Linked DNA regions of Homo sapiens: region 2 is linked to region 1. The links are contacts of gene promoters, found by promoter capture Hi-C in blood cells and fetal thymus (Javierre and others, 2016). All regions are on one chromosome and are shown on one strand. Each heading gives the region's core, a stretch centred on a gene start or on the middle of the fragment in contact. The rest is flanking DNA. Distances are from core to core; before and after follow the strand shown.

Region 1 (4,438 bases), core at 1,184-3,683:
TGTGAGACAGCGTCTCGATCTGTCCCCCAGGCTGGAGTATAATGACATATACAATGGCACCATCTTGGCTCACTGCAGCCTCTCACTCCTGGCCACCTCACCTGGCTGATGCTATCTTTTTTTTTTTTTTTTTGAGATTGGAGTCTTGCTCTATCACCAGGCTAGAGTGCAGTGGCACAATCTCGGCTCACTGCAACCTCTGCCTCCTGGGTTCAAGCAATTCTTCTACCTCAGCCTCCTGAGTAGCTGGGATTACAGGCATGCGCCATCACGCCCAGCTAATTTTTTGTATTTTTAGTAGAGATGGGGTTTCGCCATGTTGGCCAAGCTGGTCTCGAACTCCTGAGCTCAAGTAATCCACCTGCCTTGGCCTCCCAAAGTGCTGGGATTACAGGTGTGAGCCACTGCACCCAGCCCTGATGCTATTGTTAAACTCAGTTTGGAGAAAGGCTATGTGGACAGAAGATAGATCACAGGGAAGGGGGGGGTCCTAAAAGCACGTGGGGAAAACGTATATTCTGTCTTAGAGATGCTAGGACGAACTGTCTTTAGAATGAAGGCTGCCCCATGACAGGAAGCAAGGTTTTAAGGTTACTTGACTGAGAGACTCCTCATACCCTTTCCCCTCTTGGGGGTTCCAGACTCACTGAGCTAACTTTCTGGTAACTGGGCTTCCCAAGGGGTAGCCCAAACTGCCTTGATCTATTGATGCAGAAATTCAGTTCTGCTTGACAGTTTTATTTCTCTGTGCAAATTGATACCTAGCCTTCTGGGGTTTGTACATAGGCCTTTATTCTGGTCAAATGCCAGACCTGCGAAGGGAGTCGGATCCACTCACTGAACCAGTGAAACTGGGTTTTGGAGCCAGAGGTCTGGGAACCATGTCCCTCAAAACAGCCAAAGGTATCCATCTTTAGCAGAACTACCTTGTACCAGTTAATCTGCAATAAGTGACTAGGGAGAGAATGAAGGGAAGATCTAGCTAGACAGGGTAGACAAGACTCCAGGGTATAGCCAGGAAAGGGAGTCCTCCTGAAGCCTTTGCCTCATCTTAGGCACTTCCTCCTTCAGGAAGCTTTCCTTGATCCTTGCTCTACCCAGGCTGGGGTAGGTACCCTCATGTGCACTTTTCATGGCACTAACTAGTCACACTGGGCAGGGAGCATTTGTCTACTTGTCACAACATATCTGAGCTTTTGGAAAATAAGGATAATGTCTTATTTGTCTTTGTAGCTCAGGGGCCTGGTGCAGAGTAGGTACTCAGTTAATGTTTCTTGAGTGCATGACTTGGCTGAATGAATGACTGAGACAGAATGGATTGATTAAAGACAAGAGAGGGTGGACTGTAAGCCCCCCAGGATAGAAACCCCGACTGCCTTGTGGTGTACTACTCCCCAGTGCCCAGCACAGTGCCTAGCAGAATCAATGCCCAAAGTGTTCCCGATATGCTGACCGAGGGTCAGATCCCACTTGCCTCTTCTCGAAGATTCTCTACCTGACCACTTCTCTCCTTGCTGCCGCTGGCTAGCACAGAACATCCAGTCCCCGCTGCTGTACTAAGCAACACGGAACCGGGTGGCACCTAGACTTGTTCCCTGTCGCTGCAGATGTAGAGTAGTGTCTTTCCCTCCTTCCAAGCTAGTCGCCCAGGGCAGGGTCGCCCTGTCTGGCTAGGGTGCTGCACCCGCAGCTCTCGGTATCTTAGGTCAGACGCCTGGAACGCGCAGGCCGTTTCTGTTCCTCCGGAAAACAATCTCTGAGCTGCGCCACGACCCGTCCCTGCGGAGCAGGAGTGGGGAATGGGAAGGTGGGAAGGCGAGTCCGCGACTCTGCTCCCCAACCCCAGCTGGCGCGGCGGCTTTCCACGCACCCCCCTCCCCCCACCCCGATCTCCCGATCCTGGCTCTGGCGCGGTGCTCCTTGCAGCCCCACGCTTTGCAAACTTTCGGAGTTTTACTCCATTTGCGTCACGGAAAAGGCAGGAGGATGACGGAGTCCAGGAAGCGAGGCAGCGGCAGCTGGCAAGCTCCCCCGCCGGGCGCTCCAACCACGGGGGCGTGAGGTGTCTCCCGGCGAGGGCGGACAGGCGGAGGGAGAGGAGGGGAGGTGGCGGTCCCAGGGACCAGCCCCGGAGGCTCTCGGGCCCCCTCGTTCCCGGGTCGTTTCCTCCCTCTCGCCTCCCGGACTGAGCGCCAGCGAGCGAGGGCGCTGGCCAGCTGGGAAGCCGCGCGGAGGAGTAGGCGGGGGCTCGGCTGCAGCGCCCCGGGCCCGCGGGAGGGCGGAGCTGGCCGTCCCTGCCCCGCCGGGACGCACGGAAGTGCAGCGGAGTTTGCCCGATTCTCCAGCCTGCTTCCCCCTCCCTCCTCCCTCTCCCCACCCCTCACCTCCCCTTTGGCGATCCCCTCCTTCCTCAGGACGCCACCTCCCGGAATCGCCTTTTTGTTTTGGAGCTGCCTTCTCGCTGGCGGAGCGGAGGGTCTGCGAGCGCCGGGGAAGGCAGGCTGGGGGCGCAGCCCGCCCCCCACTGGCCGGGCCCCGCAGGGCGGAGAGGAGGACGGACGGACAGACGGCTGGCCGCGCCATCTGCTCGCCGGAGCTCACTCTCCAAACTCCAAACTGTTGAGTGTGTGCGTGCACGCGAGGGTGGTGATCGGGGGTCGTAAGTCCCGGGTGAGGAACCGGTTTCTGCTGGGGTTACCTTTGGACGGGGTTCCTGGGATTCAGAGCAGGGTCAGCGTCAGGCTCAGAAACTGCTGAGGAATTAGGCAAACAAAAGAGACCACTCAGCGAGTGGCTAGAAGTCGCCCGACAGCCTCGTCGCGCCCCCTCCTTCCTCCGGGGTTGGGGCTGGCCACTTCTGGGGCGGGGAGAGGGCGCCCGAGCCGGCGGGGGCTCCGGCTGCGCAGCCGGGGTCGAAGAGTTGGCGGCCTGTTGTGTAAGCCTCAGTCCTTGTTTTCCCGGCCTGGCTCGTTGTGAAGCCGGACACATCCACCCTTGGACTCGATTCAGGCGGCTGCTGCTTTTCTCCTTGCCCCTCTTGGATTTTCCGGATTTTTGAAAACCCAGTGGCCCAGGAGCAAGAGGAGGAAGGAGGAAGGGGCAGATCTGCAGAGGAATGTGAGAGCCTCCCAAAGCGAGAGCCGCCAAAAGAATCTGGGAGCCAGAGGGACAGCCGAGCCCTGCCCGGGTTTCTGGAATGGTGGTTTCAGAGTGAGTCTCTTCTATTTTAGAACGTTGTTCCAGTGGAAAGTGTCGAATTTTTCCCCTCGCAGGGCAGATTTCTCCAGGTCACTTGACTTTTCTTCTGGGAGTAGGAGTTAGGAGAGATTCCCCTCTAACCCCCCAGAGGCTGCTAAGGGAGGAGGAGACTGTGGACATGAGCCCTCCCTGCTCACAAGCATATGCCCGGAGACCTGATAGGGCAGTTTCTGGGCCATGGACATTGCTTTGAAGAGGGGGAGACTGGACAGCATCTGTGGGTGCTGAGACCCCACCTTAGGACCTGAGAGATTGAACTGTGTAAGCGCCATTCAGCTGCGAGTGCATTCTTGGACTGCCTTGTGAGCATCCCCGGTCTGGGCAGGACCCTCTCCTTCCCATCTTTCTATACCACCCAGCCCAGCCATGGCACTGAAAGGCCGAGCCCTCTATGACTTTCACAGTGAGAACAAGGAGGAAATCAGCATCCAGCAGGATGAGGACCTGGTCATCTTTAGCGAGACCTCACTGGATGGCTGGCTGCAGGGCCAGAACAGCCGTGGGGAGACAGGGCTCTTTCCTGCCTCTTATGTGGAGATCGTCCGTTCTGGCATCAGCACCAACCATGCTGACTACTCCAGCAGCCCTGCAGGCTCTCCCGGAGCCCAGGTGAGCTTGTACAACAGCCCCAGTGTGGCCAGCCCAGCTAGGAGTGGTGGGGGCAGTGGCTTCCTCTCAAACCAGGGTAGCTTTGAGGAGGATGATGATGATGACTGGGATGACTGGGACGACGGATGCACAGTGGTGGAGGAGCCACGGGCTGGTGGGCTGGGCACCAACGGGCACCCTCCCCTCAACCTCTCCTACCCTGGTGCCTACCCCAGCCAGCACATGGCCTTCCGGCCCAAGCCACCACTGGAGCGGCAGGACAGCCTGGCATCTGCCAAGCGAGGCAGTGTGGTGGGCCGTAACCTCAACCGTTTCTCATGCTTTGTGCGTTCTGGAGTGGAGGCCTTCATCCTGGGTGATGTGCCCATGATGGCCAAGATCGCTGAGACATACTCCATTGAAATGGGCCCTCGTGGCCCCCAGTGGAAGGCCAATCCCCACCCATTTGCCTGCTCTGTGGAGGACCCCACAAAACAGACCAAATTCAAGGGCATCAAAAGCTACATCTCCTACAAGCTCACACCCACCCATGCTGCCTCACCCGTCTACCGGCGCTACAAACACTTTGACT
Region 2 (3,909 bases), core at 7-2,506, 270 kb before region 1:
ACCTAAACTATTTGTACAAACTCTATAGCTTATGCTGAAAATGTGCTTTCTTTCTGAGAGTTTGGGATTTTGGTACATGCTAGGCATACAGTGCCTAGATGACTACATCTCAATAAAAATCCTGGCACAGAGTCTCTAATGAGCTGCCCTGGTAGACAGCATTTTGCATGTGTTGTCACATTCATTGTTGGAAGAATTAAGAGTGTCCTGTGTGACTCCACTGGGAGAGGATTCTAGGAAGCTTGAGCCTGGCTTCCTCCAGCTTTGCCACAGGCACCTTTTCGCTTTGCTGATTCTGCTTTGCATCTTCTCGCTGTACTAAATCAGTCTGACTATATGCAGAGTCCTGTGAGTCCTCTTCCATCGAACCATGGAGACTCTGACACACATTCCCATCCAAAGTACGGAGGTTATTGTTGATTCTCTACAACTCTCACCTCCCAGATGCTTTGACACATGCTCCAGGTAAGCTCATGTTGTGACAGCCATATAAAACCTTGAATTAGCATCCCCAGCAGATAGAACAAATGAATAAAATATGTGAAGGCCAAGAACGTGAAAGTCATTTAACTCTCCATTCCTCAATCATGCACAGTATGGACTGCTGACAGATGACATGGCTCACTCACCTGGGGAGAAATACTGGTTTCTGTGCTAGATGTTCACGAAGCTCAGGCGAGGTAGTATCTGAATTCATGTATCGCTCCACGTAGTCTGACCAGCGCTAAGATGGCAAACACAAAATACAGGTGGAAGGAAATCACAAAAACAGCTCCTAATGCATTGGGCACTCTAGTAAATTCTATGATTACAATGCCCCGAATTCATAAATTTCAAGATCAAAAAAGTCCCTTTCTATAAAGACATGATTGTTAGTAGGTATTGGAACACGGATTAAAAATTCTGTTAGCCAGCAATACTGCTAAGTTTCTGAGGTGCTAAGGTTATGAGAAGTCATAAACAGGTAGAAGCTGGCTCACTGACAAGTTTCATTTCCCCACAGAGCATTTTGTTAAAGAACAAAATTTATAGTGGCAAATGTGTGAAAGTTTCCTTCACATTACAATCTAGATTTCTGACATCGCTTAAAAAAAAAAAAAAAAAAAAAGATCTGCCAACAAGCCAACATTCCCACCAAAACAAGTCATCCCACACGACCCCCCCCAACATCATACATATGGCCTGCATCTCCTGTGTACATTATCTGCCATAACCAACTATGATAATCACACCTGTCTATTCAGGGGTTGAAAACTCTGGACTTTATCAGTCCAATAAAAAGTAAACATGACACAAAGAATCAAGATGACATGAGAAAGACCTCATTTGTTGTTTTTTATACTTTAGGAAAAAACAGGAAAGCTGCCAACCATAAGACTTCCTTAGAGGAGATAGCTTTACTAAGTGCAAGATGAGGTTAACATCTATAACCAGGCAGCCCGTCTCTTCAGCTGAAGACATGGCTGGATTGACTTGTACTTTAAGCATCCAGGTCCTGACCCTTAAACAGGCCTGAGGTGCCTTGGCCTTTTGGCAGACAGGGTCACTGGACAGACTCTCAAGGCACGCCAGCTCTGCTTGGCACCTGGGGTCTGTGATGTACTTGCTCATACCTCTGCTTCCACAGGGTCATCCGAATTCTCCTCTTCTGTGTCCAGAAGCTCAATAGTCAGCTGGACCTGGCCTTGGCTCTGAATAAACATAAGCTGCAAATAAGAAACCTAAGCGTAAACAAAAGACCGTCTCTGTAGCTGTAATCTATCTTCTCAAGGAATGAGAGGTGCAGAGGCAATAAACTTAGTAAACTTTGCTCCAACTGAAGAGATGAGGAAGATACTAGATCTTGGGTGGCCAGTGATAAAGGCAAAAGTCTACACTTACTACAAGTAAAATGAAATATATTAAAGCAAAAGGTACTATTTCATGTTTCAAACTTCTAGAATTCGCTAAAATAATAATCAATGTCAGTAAGAATGTTTTACAAAACAAATATTTTGTCAGAAAGAAATATGGCACATGTAGCCAGAACCACAAAATGTCAATGCTCTGTCCATTGGTAATCCCACTTCTAGGACGTAATAGAGGAGGTAACTATCAGAATCACATGGAGAAGGTCAGAGCCTGGAAGGAAACCTGAGAATTTTTTATTTCAACCTTCTTCATTTTACACAGAGACAAAACTGAAATTCAGAAGAGTTCTGGTTTCTCAAGGCACACCACTAATCAATATACATGCAGAGCCAGAAGCTAGATCTAGCTCAGTGTTCTTTTAAAGCTTTAAAAATTGCTCTCTGCTAGTAAAGCTTACAACCTGACAATAACATAATATATACACACACAAATACAGTTATTTCCAAAATAGATTTCGGGGTGGGGGCAGACCCTGCATTTTCACAATTTATAATTTAAGAATTGCAAAATCTGTCTCCAGTATTCATAACAGGATGTCATTAACCAGTCCCCATAGTGGGTTGGACGTCTAGGATGTTTCCAACTATTTGCTTTTATAATTATCCATTATAATGGTGAAAAATTGGAAACAACCTAAATGTCCACCAATACAGGCATTAATTCTCTAAAAAGTGAATATCAAATAGCCATAAAAAAGACAATAAAGACCCAGAAGTGTTGTTAATTGAGCAAAAATACATTAAAGACCATTTCCGGTCAGATGCAGTGGCTCACACCTGTAATCCCAGCACTTTGGGAGGCTAAGGCGGGCAGATCACTTGAGGCCAGGAGTTTGAGACAAGCCTGCCCAACATGGTGAAACCACATCTCTACTAAAAATACAAAAATTAGACCGGGTGCAGTGGCTCATGCCTGTAATCCCAGCACTTTGGGAGGCCAAGGAGGGCAGATCACCTGAGCTCAGGAGTTCAAGACCAGCCTGACCAACATGGTGAAACCCTGTCTCTACTAAACACACACACCCACACAAGCTGGCCATGGTGGCACGTGTCTGTAATCCCAGCTACTCAGGAGGCCGAGGCAGGAGAACTGCTTGAACCCAGGAGGCGGAGGTTGCAGTGAGCTGAAATAGCACCACTGCACTCCAAGCCTGGACAACCTGGACAACCTGGACAACAAGAGTGAGCCTCCATCTCGGGAAAAAAAAAAAAATTAGCTGGACATAGTGGTACATGACTGTAATCCCAGCTACTAGGGTGGCTGACGTGTGAGAATCACTTGAACTCAGGAGGCAGAGGTTGCAGTGAACCAAGATTGCGCCACTGCACTCCAGCCTGGGCAACAGTGTGTGTCCCTGTCTTAAAAAAAAAAAAAAAAAAGTTAAAGACCATTTTGTCCAGTATAAACTCTTTCAAAATATATACTCAAGCATAGAGAAGTTTAGAATCATAGAGATGTCATCAATGATAATTTCAGGAAAGAATTCTAAGGTGACTTTTTTTGGTTATCTGCATTTTATTTTCATTTTTTTGGGACAGAGTCTTGCTCTGTCACCCAGGCTGGGGTGCAGTGACGCGATCAGGCCTCACTGCAGCCTCGACCTCCCAGGCTCAAGCAATCCTTTTTTTTTTTTTTTGAGACGGAGTCTCGCTCTGTCTCCCAGGCTGGAGTGCAGTGGCGCGATCTCAGCTTACTGCAAGCTCCGCCTCCCGGGTTCACGCCATTCTCCTGACTCAGCCTCCAGAGTAGCTGGGACTACAGACGCCCACCACTACGCCCGGCTAATTTTTTGTATTTTTAGTAGAGACGGGGGCAATCCTTCTACCTCATTCTCCTGAGTAGCTGAGACTACAGGTGCACGCTACCATGCCGGGCTAATTTTTGTATTCTTGTATTTCTTGCAGAGATGGGGTTTTGCCATGTTGCCCAAGCTGGTCTCAAGTGATCCGCCCACCTCGGCCTCCCAGTGTGCTGAGATTACAAGTGTGAGCCATGTGT

What was found. Contacts are between HindIII fragments. The CHiCAGO score rates a contact against its expected background, and 5 or more counts as called.
Region 2: a fragment that was not itself captured here is called in contact with the fragment with the promoter of SNX33 in region 1 in 5 of 17 cell types (naive CD4 T cells, naive CD8 T cells, total CD4 T cells and 2 more); the score reaches 6.2 in naive CD4 T cells.

What each region holds. Positions count from the first base shown.
Region 1 is chr15:75,645,479-75,649,916 of GRCh38, forward strand. SNX33 (sorting nexin 33) reads left to right here and starts at 2,434. Exons shown (of 2, transcript NM_153271.2): 1 at 2,434-4,438. The coding sequence starts at 3,625. RefSeq lists a silencer at 2,053-2,592 and an enhancer at 2,218-2,909. The HindIII fragment of the contact is 30,102 bases long and covers 1,074-4,438 here.
Region 2 is chr15:75,380,000-75,383,908 of GRCh38, forward strand. SIN3A (SIN3 transcription regulator family member A) reads right to left here. Exons shown (of 21, transcript NM_001145358.2): 18 at 1,614-1,706; 19 at 630-724. Among named protein-coding and RNA genes, the nearest start is that of MAN2C1, 13 kb to the left of the region's middle. The HindIII fragment of the contact is 2,034 bases long and covers 240-2,273 here.